Regions from separate parts of the Homo sapiens genome. Here all the other regions are linked to region 1. The links are contacts of gene promoters, found by promoter capture Hi-C in human tissues and cell types (Jung and others, 2019). All regions are on one chromosome and are shown on one strand. The core of a region is centred on a gene start or on the middle of the fragment in contact, and the rest is flanking DNA. Distances in the headings are between cores, read along the strand shown. Region 1 holds the start of ERMN (ermin). Region 2 has its middle 110 kb from the start of UPP2. Region 3 has its middle 72 kb from the start of ACVR1.

Region 1 (4,533 bases), core at 1,489-3,988:
CTCTATTATGGAGGAAAAACATACTCCATCAAACAGGAAAGGATTCATTGAGGGAAAACTTAACCAGCGAGACCATCTAGCTGAAAACTACAGCCTGCTTTCATTCTCCATTTGATGAAAATGAAAGATCTAGACAACTGTTACCTGCAATGGACTCCTGATCAAACATTTGAAAGGGGCTCTAGATGATAGGAGGTTGAGATTCTGCCTCTGAGAACTTGTTACATTGGAAGCAGAATAATTAGGGCAAAGAGGTTATTAAGTTCATATTGTGAAGTCTTAAGTCTTAAAAATTATCTCTGGTAATGTGACAGCTTGACACTGTCTATTGCTTGCTACATATTTCCTTAAGTGTTGCTACACTGCTAAGCAGACATAGTATGAGAGGTGTTCAGGCAAAGGGAGCAGATGTAGGAAATAGCCAATCACATTCCTGTCCTCCTTGACATCTACTATTTTATGTGATGTTCTAATATTTCAACCAATAGTCTCTTCAATATTTTGCCTGTTAAAGTCCTAACAAAGCTAAATTGGTTAGGTTTAGCAAGCTGACTTCAATTTGACATAAGATGTGTATGGCTGCAAGAGAGGAAAGAAATGATTAATTAATAGATTTTATCCTACACTTTATTTGGGAACTGTTTAAATGTAGGTGTCTTAGAAAAATCTAAAGGATTTTGTGTCTCTTAGTCTATTAAGTTTATTTAAAATTTAACATAATCACTTCAATGTTCTTTTTATTCTTCCATTTTCTTAAAGAACACAATTAAAATTAACTTTATCACCCTGTCTTTCTTTGACATGAAATAGTTAACAATTTTGTATTTACATTAGAGGCCTATAAAGTAAATCATTTCGTGAGATTACTTTAAACTGTATGTTGGCCGGGCACAGTGGCTCACGCCTGTAACCCCAGCACTTTGGGAGGCCAAGGCAGGTGGATCAACTGAGGTCAGGAGTTCAAGACCAGCCTGGCCAACATGGTGAAACTCCGTCTCTACTAAAAATACACACACACACACACACACACACACAAAATAGCTGGGCGTGGTGTCAGGTGCCTGTAATCCCAGTTACTCAGGAAGCTGAGGCAGGAGAATCGCTTGAACCCTGGAGACAGAGGTTGCAGTCTGCCGAGATTGCACCATTGCACTCCAGCCTGGGCAACAAGAGTGACACTCCGTCTCAAAAAAAAAAAAAAAAGCTGTATGTTAATTGTAGACTTTTAGGAAAGACCCGTTTTTGAAACATTTACCTTTCACAAGGTGCACACACAGATTTGGACACACCAAATCAAAAAGTAGGGTTGACTCAGTGGACTAACTTAAGAGATAGACATCACGTTGGTATGCCAATCAGCTATGCCATTCCATGCAGCCTCAGCCTTGAACAGTCTGGAATGCTTTATAAGGTGGAACCCACAGATAAGTTAAGACTCTCTTATCTGCCTACAGCAGCTTTGAAAATTTGAAGTCATTGCCTGGATTGCTTTGTCAACCCCACGCTCATGCAACATTTCATGGAAAGACTGTCATCCATACTCAGTCAAACAATTTCTGTGTACAAAACTGTAGTTCTTGTTACCTTCTCTGAATGTCATTTCATCAGCACTAGTTTCTTGGAGAGAAAGATCTGTGATAGCCTTATGAACAATAAAGAGTTTCTCTTCTGGGTTTTCTAGGAAAAAAATATAAAATCAGTATTTTAACATTTAAAATATTTATTGTTCAACAGTTAATAAGTTATCAATTTAAACTCTAGGTAGAAGTCTTTAATTTTAAATCTGATCATTAAAATTTACTATTTCACTCTTTGGATTCATTCTTTATCAATTCAATTTATTTACTTAATGATCACTTTATTGATTGTAATCTCTCCTTTAATATTTATATAAGATATATATATAAGATATAGAACCATAAATTCAGAGAACTTCAGTTATATTTAGAAGGAAATTTTAACATTTTGAATTCTCTTTGTTCAAATAATATGGGGCTGTCCATAATCATAATAAATACAGTAGTTAACATTTAGCCAATACTTACCCTAGACTTGTAGTTATTATTATTATTCCGCCTTCTTCTAGTGAAAAAAACTCAGGCTTCGGGAGACAGAAAGTTGTCTGGGGTCACAGCTGTCAAATAGACCAGCCTGGATTTCACCAGAGGCAGAGGTTTAGTCCTTATACTATGCGTAGTAGAATAAAGGGCTACATTTTTGGGGTGTCCAGCTCATTTCGATAATAGTTTATCAAAAAAATCCAGGGTAAATTTATAAGTCAAAACAAGAAAATTAAGGAGAAGGGAAACACTTTACCTTTTAGCATTTTGTCCTCCATGGATGAGTTGAGCAGCATGTTCCCTTGTAATTTTCTTCTTTCCTCCTGACTTCCTTTGGTGAGTGCACCTTCCAGACTGGGTTCTACCCTGTAGTGTGGCAGGGGGCTGTCCACATCAGTCAATTCCTCACTGATTTTAGTGATTGTTTGTTGACCGTTTTCAGGTGGTTTATCCCCATTACACTCAGCCTGGGTAAATGTAGCCGGAACATCTGTCATGATGTGCGGTTGAATCCGATCTGGAGAGAGAGCTTTAGGGAAACTGAGTGAGTAGATCCTTGATAAGATACCTGCTCTTGCCTTCAAGTCCTATAGTTCCAACTCCTACTCTAAGAGCACAAATTATTCACTTTAGTACATAATAACAAGGTTCTTTTCCTAAAAGTATCCAGACAGAGATTAGAGCAAAAGCAAGAGGATTTGTCAGATCTGCCAGGAGCCATGAGCAAGAATCCAGCCAATCACCACCTTCTTTGTTGCTTGCCAGTTCCCTGGCAGAGTTAAAGGCATCCTTTTGATTTACATAAACAAACAATCTGAAGCAATCAGGCTTTTGTGTTGGCATGTAGAGAGGGACTTTCAGCTTGTCAGTCCCCCTCTGGGAACAGAGATTTTTGTCCCTTTTCATAATGGCCCATTGTAATTTTCCCTGTAACAGGAGCCACAATTGTCCCACAGCTTTAATCCAGAGAGAATGACCACCTTGAGGCATATTAGTTCTGTGTAACCAGCTTAACATTTCCAAACAGATTTTGTTCAAGTAAAACCTCAGCTATTTTGTAAAGGACAATGGCATTGTTTCTTATTTATTAAAAAATAAAACAGCTTATGGAAAAAACCTATAAACAGGACAACTTTACTGTAAATGGTTCTGGCTGCAGATTTGATGGTGTGCTTCCAGCAGGCTGGAGAAGGGACCTATGAAATAAACAAATTCTACCAACTTGCTAATACCAAAAGTTTTATAATTTCAGAGTAATTTACTTAGTCTATAGCTTCTTATCCTCTAGTTTATGTCTGCTGAAGCCCAGCCGATCCTTTAAAACCCTAATAAAATTATCGCCATGAAGGTTTCTCCTCCCCCAATCAGAATTACAATCCTTTCTATTCCATACTGATATTACACAATGCTGGTAAAATGTAGAGGACCAATGCAATCTGCCCTTGGGAGAAACAGGTGATTATGTTAAATGACTGCTACTGACCACCCCTTCCTTTTTAAATCTTTTTCTTTTTTGGATTTCTCATAGTACAAAATGGTTCCAGAGCCTTTGCCCACACAGCTCCTTCTATGTGAAATGCCCTTCTCTTCCTCAAGCCCAAGCCCTGGGCTGACCAGCTTCCCTAAGTTCTGTTTTTAAGCTTAAATATCATCTCCTTAACTACACTATCTCTAACCGCCAGGATTAGGACAGGACTCTGTTACACATTGTCTTTGCCCTTCAGAGTATTCTTCATGGTTGTAACTAAATAAGCAACTGCACAATTATCTCTGTAATGTCTGTTTCACCAACTGCAAACTAAGTTTCATCTGGCGAGGGGCCAGTTTAACTTGCTTACATGTGTCCCCAGCACTTAGCATCTGGCTTGGAATAGTAGCACGCAATAAAAATAATTATATATATACACATATATACACAAATAATTATATATATACACATACATAACAAGAATTATATTATATATATAATATATACAATAAATTTTATCCCCAAGAGAATAAATTTCAGATCATTTTTAAAGAGAAGAAGAATAGGTGTTGAAGAGTTGTAGTAAGCATATCACCTTTAAAAGTGTGTCTAGGGCTGAGCCCATTCAGGTCTATATCAGGGACAACACCTCACTCTTGTATAATCCCCTCTCCCTTGTCCTTGGAAGACATCTCTAATAGATCCTAGATCTCCCTCCCGCGTCATCACCAGCTGTTCTCTAGTCAGCACTCTAATTCTATGTTTGTTTGATTGTTTAACTGTTTTAACAAACGCTCATATCACACTTATTATGTGCAAGCTACTGTCCTAATTGACTCATAAATAGTAATACACTTACTCTTCATAACAGTCTTCTGAGGTAGGTGCTGTTGTTATCTCCATTTTATAGACTAGAAAAATGAAGTGCAGAGAGATTAAGGAGTTCAGCTAGTAAGGTCACAGAGCCAGCAAGCCTACTGATGAGAGTTTGCAGCACAGATGAAG
Region 2 (4,533 bases), core at 1,381-3,880, 670 kb after region 1:
TTGGTGCCATGCTCCTGAGTTCTCTCCTGCATGTAGTCTAGGAAATTTGAAAATTGAAAATTCTTTTCACCATCAGATTACCAAGGGAGTTTGAATTAAAAATGTATACCTCAAAATTACTTGATCATGCTTTGCATGTTCTTGAGCCAGTCATTTGCCTCTCAGTGCCTCAAGTTCTTTGTACATTTTTTTAAAAAGTGGCCACCATGAACTCTATATGTCTTAGTCTGTTTGTGCTGCCATAACAAAATGCCTTAGGCTGGGTAACTTATAAAGAAAAGAAATTGGTTTCTTACAATTATGGAAGCTGAGAAGCCCAAGATCAAGGTGCTAGCATTAATGTTTGGAGAGCTGCTCTCTGCTCCCAAGATGGTGCCTTGTTGTTGTGAAATCTGCAATATCACGGGGTGGGAGGTGGAAGAACAAGAGAGCCAAACTTCACTTACTCAAGGCCTTTTAAGAGGGTACCTAACATCATTCTTGAGGGCAGAGCCCTCATGATTTAATCACCTCCCAAAGGCCCCACCTCTTAACACCATCACCTTGAGAACTAAGTTTCAGTATACAAATTTTGGGGGTATACACACATTCAGACCATAGCACTATGTCAGCAGGTTATGTGAATTATCAGTGAGGCAATAAAAGTGAAGCCTTTTTGTTAACAAGGTGCTACATTCAAGTAGACTAAAACTCACATTTTGAATCTATAACTGTTCTCCAGAATGTCTTATGGATTGCCATTAGGCAAGCTTCTTCTCTCAAAACAGAAACAAAATCAAAAACAATCACAATTCCTCCAATAGAGAGTAGTGTCAAAATAACCTTATTTATTGCCTTTCCAAGCCAGGATTCTCCATACTTTCCATTATCCACAGGCCTGTAAAAGAGCTAACAGTGCCTGTTAGGCATATCTTGAAGTACTACAAAGGTGGTTATAAGAAAAATACATTTGGTAAATAATGAAGATTACAAAAAGTACAAATGACATTCCTTTGTCCTGTTTTCTTGGTTTCCCAGTGCAATTTTGGATAAAATATTAAAGAGACAATTAATCAGGAGTGCTGAGCACTGTATGAAAATAGAGAGAGATGCCAGGTCAGGCAATACATATGGGTAATTTAGAAAGATCTATATTTTTAAAAGTAGTTAGATGCTTGGGAGTATTTTGTATGTACTGTTTTCTTAGTAGAAATATAGTGCATTAAATCAACAGGATTAGACAAATATGACAGATGGAAAAACACATCTTGGTGAGCAAAGTATGGAGGGATGAAGACATGATAAAGAAGAAAAGACTGCAGAGTGTTGATGTTCTTGTGACAAGAAGAAGGGGGTATGGCCTGGACTGGAGTCGTGGTAGGAATGGTTATGGAAGACAGTAACAACAATAACTAGTGTCATATGAAAAGGGATTGAGTTATGGATATAAGTGGATGCATTAAATCTGCAAGATCTAGAATTTCTTCAGCACTGCACTCCTTTTGTTGTTTTTCATACTGTCACAACTGCATTAATCAACTATTAGTGAATTTTTGACGACTCATTCATGTACCTACGAAGGAACAGGGGTAAGCAGAGCTCATTCTTCGGGTAGTCTTAAGTAGGCAGCCTGCGAGCTCAAATGTTCTAAATTTCCTTCTTTTCACCAAGTAGGTAGGGAGGTCTGAGCTTCCCGGAGATAGGTGGGGTGTGGAGGAGTTCATGGAACATCAAAAATATTGAGATGTTCAAATCAGAATGGATTCAACATCAAAGAGAGATCTTGCACATATTTCAGAAAAGGTGAACAAAGCAATTCCACATAAAATTGCTTGTTTTGTGGCTGTTAATGAGAAAATTCCCAGAAACATACCTTTTACTGTTTATGTCTCAGACCTTGTAAATCATGAAATGCAATTTCAGATTGTAGTGTAAGACCTATAGAGAAACGTGGGTATTGCTGTTAGCTGTAAATACAGTTCTTTATTATGATTGCAGCTTGTTCTCCCTAAAATAAAATTCAGCATGTGCTGAATTTAAGTTTAGCTTGGCTAACTTTTCTGCCAGATAGAATATAAGTACACTGCATATAATACTGTGTTAGCTTTTTTTTTTTCAACATGAACTCAAATTTTGAATGTTCTTATCAGTTTATTATTAAACCTTCATGCAAAAACAAAATGGGAAAATGTAAGGGCATAATCTGTGGCATCAGATAGAACTGTTTAGATCTTGATTATGCCACTTACTTGATTGCTAATCCTTACTTTCCTTATCTATAAAAATTGGATGATAGATATGCTTACCTCATATGGTAGCTCTGAGGTATAAAGGAGACAATGAATGTAGACTTTGTTGGGATACTTACGTATCCTCAGTAAATAATACCCATTTTCCCCACCCAAGTTCTGAACCAATTTAGAAACAGACAAGAGTAACGCAGGCAGGAGACCATTATCATTGATAAAGCTGACACTGGAGAACTTAGGCTTCCTGACGCTGAATACCAGAAATAGACAGGCTCACCAACTGGTATCAGGTAGTCCTGGACAATGGGTCGTTCCACCGGGAAAAGGTCTTTGCCACTATGCTTACAGCTTGCCTAAAATCATGCTCCCTGTGAGAGTTGCTACCAAAAGAGAAAGAGGCTGGAATACAAATACCCAGATTCTCTCAACTTATCCTTGCCAGGGGAGGATAAATGAGGAGGTGGAAGTATCCAGGAATGTTACAGCTCATGCAGCTCTCTCTCATGGGAGGAAACAGCAGGAGTGGAGAATGAGTATTCCCTCCCACAGAATGATTAGCACAGTGCCTGGCACATGCTAATTTATTATTTGTCATCTATGCCTATTATATTTACTGGTTCTTAAGGAAAAGTGAAAATAAATACAAATTATACTTTGAACATATGTGAGAGTGGTAGGTGGCAAGTTTTAGAGAGATTGATAAAACCTGAATAGTTAAGGTCCTTATATGTCATAATGTGCATTTTCATTTTGTTTCGTAGATAATGGATAACCAAAAATAATCTTAAATCAGGGAGAAACCCTCTATTAAGTCTGTTCTTACACTGTTATAAAGAACTACCTGAGACTGGCTAATTTATGAAGAAAAGAGATTTAATATACTCATAGTTCTGCAGGCTGTATAGGCAGCATGGCTGCGGGGCCTCAGGAAACTTAAAATTATGGCGGAAGATGAAGCAGAACCAAGCATATATTCATCATGGCGGAGCAGGAGATGGAGAGAGAGCAAAGGGGGAAGTGCTACACACTTTCAAACAACCAGATCTTTTGAGAACTCTATCATGAGACAGTACTAGGGGGATGGTGCCAAACCATCAGAAACCACCCCTATGATCCAATCACCTCCCACCAGGCCCTACCTCCAACACATAGGGTCACAATTCAACATGAGATTTGGATGGGGACACAGAGCCAAACCATATCAAACTTTCAAGTTTGCACTTTAGAATATGAACTCTTTCTTAGACTGTTTCATGTTGCTATAAAAGAATACCTGAGTCTGGGTAATTTGTAAAAGTAAGAGGTTTATCTGGCTCATGGCTCTGCAGGCTGTATGACCATGACACCAGCGTCTGCTTCTGGTGAGGGCTTCATGGAGCTTCCACTCATGGTGGAAGGCAGAGGAGAGCAGGCATCACATGGTAAAGGGAAAGAACAGAGAGAGAGAATGAGAGAGAGAGGAAGAGGGGTGGGGAGGGAGGTGTCAGACTCTTTAACAGATCTAACAGGAACTAAGAGTGAGAACTCACTCAATCCCGCAAGAATGGCACCAAGCCATTTGTGAGGGATTCATCCTCATGACCCCAACACCTCTCTCTAGGCCCCACCTCCAACATTGGGGATCAAATTTCAGTATGAGATTTGGAGGGGACAAATATTCAAACTATATCAAACTCTAACTGCAGTATACAACATAGAGAAGATGAACAGTCTCCCTGAGCCAGGCACTATGGTATGCACCTAATAGAATGCTCTCTCTTTTAATCCTCACAGCAATCTTGAGAATAATGCCACACTCACATCACTCCCATTTTAAGATTGCATAACTGAAACTTTGAAAGTTTAAATAATTTAGCCAAGATACTCAGCTTATAAATGAAAAAATCGAGAATTTGATCCCATATCTACCTGACTCTAAAACTCAGGACTGGCTTCATGGGCCCGTGACCAGTACAGTCACACAGAGACCTGAATTTAGAAGGGCTCTGAGCTTGGTTTCATGCTCTGCTGTCTCAGTATTAAAATTCTTAATCATTTTAGAACAAGGAGCCTGCATTTTCATTTTGCATTGGGTCCCTTAAATGATGTAGCCAGTCCTGCCAAGATATCTTTTCTTACTATTATTCCAGTCACCACTATCACCAAATCGGAAAGATTCTACACAAATAAAACTCCCCTTTTCATCAGAGTTATGGAAAAGTAATGAGTCTAGGTGGAAAATTAATATGTGGATGATCGTATATGGGTGTTTCTGCATTTACACGTGTAAATGTTCACAATTCAGAGCCCAGTCATTGTCACCACT
Region 3 (4,533 bases), core at 1,223-3,722, 620 kb after region 1:
GAGATCCAGCAAATGTAGACAACAACCACCACCAGGCATTTCATGCTTCTTGTGTCCAGGGACTGGCAGACACGAAGAGAAGTTATCATCTTGGCAGGGATCACGGACCCTGTTCTTTAGGAGGCAGTAGGGCTGCTTTTACACAATGGGGGCGGGAATAAATATGTGTGCATCCAGCTAATACACTTGAGTGTTTTTTTGTATTCCTTTGCTCAACTGTGATTTTATTTGTACATTCAAAAATTTTTATTTTAAAAAATATTTATTTTTCAATTTAATAGAGATGGAGTCTCACTATGTTGCCCAAACTGGTCTCAAATTCCTGGCCTCAAGTGATCCTCCTGCCTCAGCATTCCAAAGTGCTGGGATTATAGGTGTCAACCACCACACCCAGGCCTAACTACACAATCTTGTCCAAAGTATTCTCTGTTCAACAGAAAGCCTCAATTTAGGTGTAATCAAATTACTTTACTTTTTTTCTTTTTGTTATAGCTTGTGCTTCTGAAGTTTTGTATAAGTAACCCTTCCCTACTCCTAAGTCACAAAAATGTTCTATATTTTATTTTATAAATTTATAGTTATAACATTCATATTTATTCTTTTATTTATTTATTCATTCATTTATTTATTTATTTGAGACGGAGTTTCGCTCTGTCACCCAGGCTGGAGTGCAGTGGTGCGATCTTGGCTCACTGCAACCTCCGCTTCCCGGATTCAAGCAATTCTCTCCCTCAGCCTCCCGAGTAGCTGGGACTACAGGCGCCCGCCACCATGCCCAGCTAATTTTTTGTATTTTTAGTAGAGATGGGGTCTCACCATCTTGGCCAGGCTGATCTTGAACTCCTGACCTTGTGATCTACCCACCTCGGCCTCCCAAAGTGCTGGGATTACAGCATATTTATTCTTAAATCTATCTGGAGTCCATTTTTTATTATGTTGTATAAAGATCCAGTCTTTGTGTGCATATAGCTAGTTTTCCTTTAGTGTCTATTAAGTTTCTGTATAAACATGTCCCTGGCACTCACTTCTGTTTTTTGTCTGTTTGTTCTTGAACCAAACCAACAATACAATATTGTGATAGCTTTGAACTGTGTCAGATTAGTTTTACTGGAATTACATTTCCTGTAATTATTTTTTCCTTATGGTCCTCAGTTTGTTTTGGCCACAGGAGGCATTTTGTGTGATACTTGAAAAGTGGTAAGTGAAGGGGCAGCTATCTGTCTATCTATCTGTCTATCTGTCTATCTATCTATCTATCTATCTATCTATCTATCTATCTATCTATCTATCTATCATCTATCTGCTCTGAAGGTCCTCAGAAAGTGCCATGTATAGCAACATCTTGCATGCATTGTTACTGATCTGCTGGCTTATCTTATTGAATCAACTGAGACATCCAGCTCCTCCAGCTCCTGTCAAATCTCCACCAGATTCTCCAATTTCTGCCCCAAGTATGTGGACAGTTCCATGGTGAAAGGTCCCACCTTCTACTGATCACTCATAGCACTGATGTTGGAAATGGCAAGAGACACACACTGGTTCTGCTCTGTCTTGTGGGTTCCAGTTCCAGCTCCAGTTTGTCTTCACTGGTTCCAGTTTGCCCATCTTCTCAGCCACAGCTAGCTTTCCTTTCCATCTGCTAGTCTGTCTGACCTATAAACGCTTGAGGTCAACACTAGATGCAGATGCAAAAGCTTATATAGACTCTTCTGCCAGCTCCCATAATTGCCTAAAGCTTAACACTATAGTAAATCCATTATTCTATGAATAGAAATTCTGCTTCCCTTTTCAATTCCTTATTCAAATAAACACCATCCTGCTCCTTATTACTACTGTTTATGTTTTAATATTACAAAGTAGGAGTCTACATTTAAAATGGCAACTTAGTCTAGGAAATTAGTTGGCATATAAATTCTAGAGTATAAATTTCCTCACGAAATCTAACTGGAATTTTAATCAACTGCTTTACATATATTAATTGATTTTTACGTTAGTGTAATTAGATATTTAAAATATTATGTTTGAGACTATAAAGTCTTTTCATGTACTAAATTCATATCTGTGCCCTTTATAAAAGTCTTAAAATTTCCTCCATAGATGTCTTGTGTATTCTTGGTCAATTGGCTAATGTTAACAAAATATCTGGGTTAATTTAAGATACTTTATTTTTGTTGCAAAAATGAATGGCATAATTTACAAAATACTCTTATTTTGTTATTGAGGCTAAAGGCAATCCGTTTTTTAGTATAGTCTTGCGTCTGTCAACCTCGCCCAAATCCCTTATTAATTCTGATAGTTGATTGATTCTGTGTTTGTGTGTGTGTGTGTATTTGTGTGACTGATTCTGATGCTTGCCTACCCATTGGCCAGTCTACCTTCTCTCTTATAGTAGTATGTCTAATCCTAAGACATGAATTAGGATTGGTTTACAACACTGCCATCCCATTTCTCTTTGTGTTGGTCTAGGGGCATGCTACTAAGTTCTGTTGAGTAGTTTAGAAAAAGACTGTCCTCTCAGTTAAGAGAAAGGCATAGAAAAAGAAAAGTCTCTCTTTACCCATATCCACTTCCTTCCTGCTTAGGTATTGATAGGAGCTGATGTGTGAGAATTTTGTGCTGGGAGCTCCAGCAGCCACCTTATGATCAAAATGGGAAACTTGGTCGACATGCAGAGGATGGTCCTCTAAGCAGGTGGGAAAAGTGTGGGCCCTTGCTATGTCATGAGCTCCCCACCCAACTGGGGATCACCTACCTCCAGATTGCTGTCTGTTGAGGAAGAACTTTCCTAATGGTTAAGTCACCATTTTTTAAGGTCTCTGTCATTTACAGCTAAAATTGATCTGTTTGATATAGTGACAGTGTAGTTCATAGCAATACCACCTGAGCATTCCCCTTCACATTCTTTCTTTTTCTTTTATGTAGAGATGGGGTCTCACTATGTTGTCCAGGCTGACCTCAAACTGCTGGTCTCAAGTAATCCTCCCACCTCAGCCTCCCAAGTAGTTGAGATTACAGATGTGTGTTACTGTGCCTGGCTCCCCTTTACATTCTTTAATTTAATTTAGAGACAAGGTCCTACTCTGCTGCCCAGGCTAAAGTGCAGTGGCATAATCACAGCTCACTGCAGTCTCCATCTCTTGGGCTTATAAATCATTCTCCCACCTCAGCCTGCCAAGTAGCTGAGGCTACCGGCCCACACCACTACCTCCAGCTAATCCTTTACACTCTTAATTATAAAATGTATAATACATATATTATTTTCCTTTTGTCCATTTTCTACCTTTTGTCTCATATTTTATCTCCATATTCTCCACATGTTTTCTTACTTTAGCTCTGGACAATCTTCACAGGCAAAACAGGAAACAGTCCATATCATCAAAGCTCTGTTGGATCCCCGGTAGAATCAGCTCTGTCTCTTTCCCTTTATCCTCCACCTAAAATCACAGGCAGTTTTACAGGCTCAGTTAATACCTGGGATATTATAACCCTGTTGTGAGTATTTATAAAGAGCAAACAATCACAGATATGAAGCTAAAATGAACTGGAGTATAGAGAGTTTCAGACATTTGCCCAAGTCTTAGGCAAAACGTGTCACATTGCCTTTAAAATTTCTCGTCTGATTCTAATAATTTGCTTAAATGAAATTTGTCTGGTAGAGCCAAATGGAAAGATCCCAGTATAAAAGGGAAGAAACCATCAGGTATCCAGTAAGAGAGCATGACGTTGCATGAGTGGGGAGTGGTAACAAAATCAGAGGAGACCAAGTATAATTAGATAATGAAAACATTTTAAACCCATAATATTAATAAGAGTTGAACATTGACTCCTTTGTAAATACTTTACTATATCAAAGAAGCTTGGCTAGAACTTAAGGAAGCTGAGCTTCTACCTTGTCAATTAATAATTCTGTGACCTTTGAAATTTTCTTTCCTTTACTCTCCTCACATATAAGGAACTTATACAAGTGAAATTATAGTTGGTCCTTTGTTGTGTCTGTGGTTCCCCATCCATGGATTTAACCAGTCTCAGTTAGAAAATATTTGGAAAAAAATAATTAAACATAACAAGACAATGATAAAAAAGAATGCCAATTCAAAAGAATGCAATACAACAATGCTTCACATAGCATTCACATTGTGTTGGCATTATAAGTAATCTAGAGATGATTTAAAGTGTATAGGAGGATGTGCTCAGATAATAAGCAAATACTACACCACTTTATATCAGGGACTTGAGCTTCCATGGATTTTGGTATCCTCGGGGGTCCTGGAACAAATCCCCTGAGGATACGAAGGGATGACTGCACTTAGAAAAAAAGAAGATTCAATGGGAGAAATGTGAGCCACCTTTTCTTTCCCTTTTTTAACTGATGACTAAAAATTGTATATATGTATGGTGTACAACATGATGTTTTGATATATGCATACATTGTGGAATGGCTAAATCAAGCTAATTAGCATATGCATTACTTCACTTATTTTTTTGTGCTGAGAACACTTAAAACCAACTCTCTTAGCTACTTTCAAATATTCA

The links. The method cuts DNA at HindIII sites, captures the fragments that hold promoters and counts their contacts. A contact is called where the count stands out against the background at its distance.
Region 2: a contact is called between a fragment that was not itself captured here and the fragment with the promoter of ERMN in region 1, in 1 of the 25 tissues and cell types used here (thymus).
Region 3: a contact is called between a fragment that was not itself captured here and the fragment with the promoter of ERMN in region 1, in 2 of the 25 tissues and cell types used here (mesenchymal stem cells and spleen).

The regions. Positions count from the first base shown.
Region 1 is chr2:157,323,086-157,327,618 of GRCh38, forward strand. ERMN (ermin) reads right to left here and starts at 2,739. Exons shown (of 3, transcript NM_020711.3): 1 at 2,317-2,739; 2 at 1,585-1,677. The coding sequence starts at 2,557. RefSeq lists an enhancer at 2,623-3,172. The HindIII fragment of the contact is 5,881 bases long and covers 848-4,533 here.
Region 2 is chr2:157,990,618-157,995,150 of GRCh38, forward strand. No RefSeq gene overlaps it. Among named protein-coding and RNA genes, the nearest start is that of UPP2, 110 kb to the right of the region's middle. The HindIII fragment of the contact is 8,976 bases long and covers 1-4,533 here.
Region 3 is chr2:157,946,096-157,950,628 of GRCh38, forward strand. No RefSeq gene overlaps it. Among named protein-coding and RNA genes, the nearest start is that of ACVR1, 72 kb to the left of the region's middle. The HindIII fragment of the contact is 4,456 bases long and covers 245-4,533 here.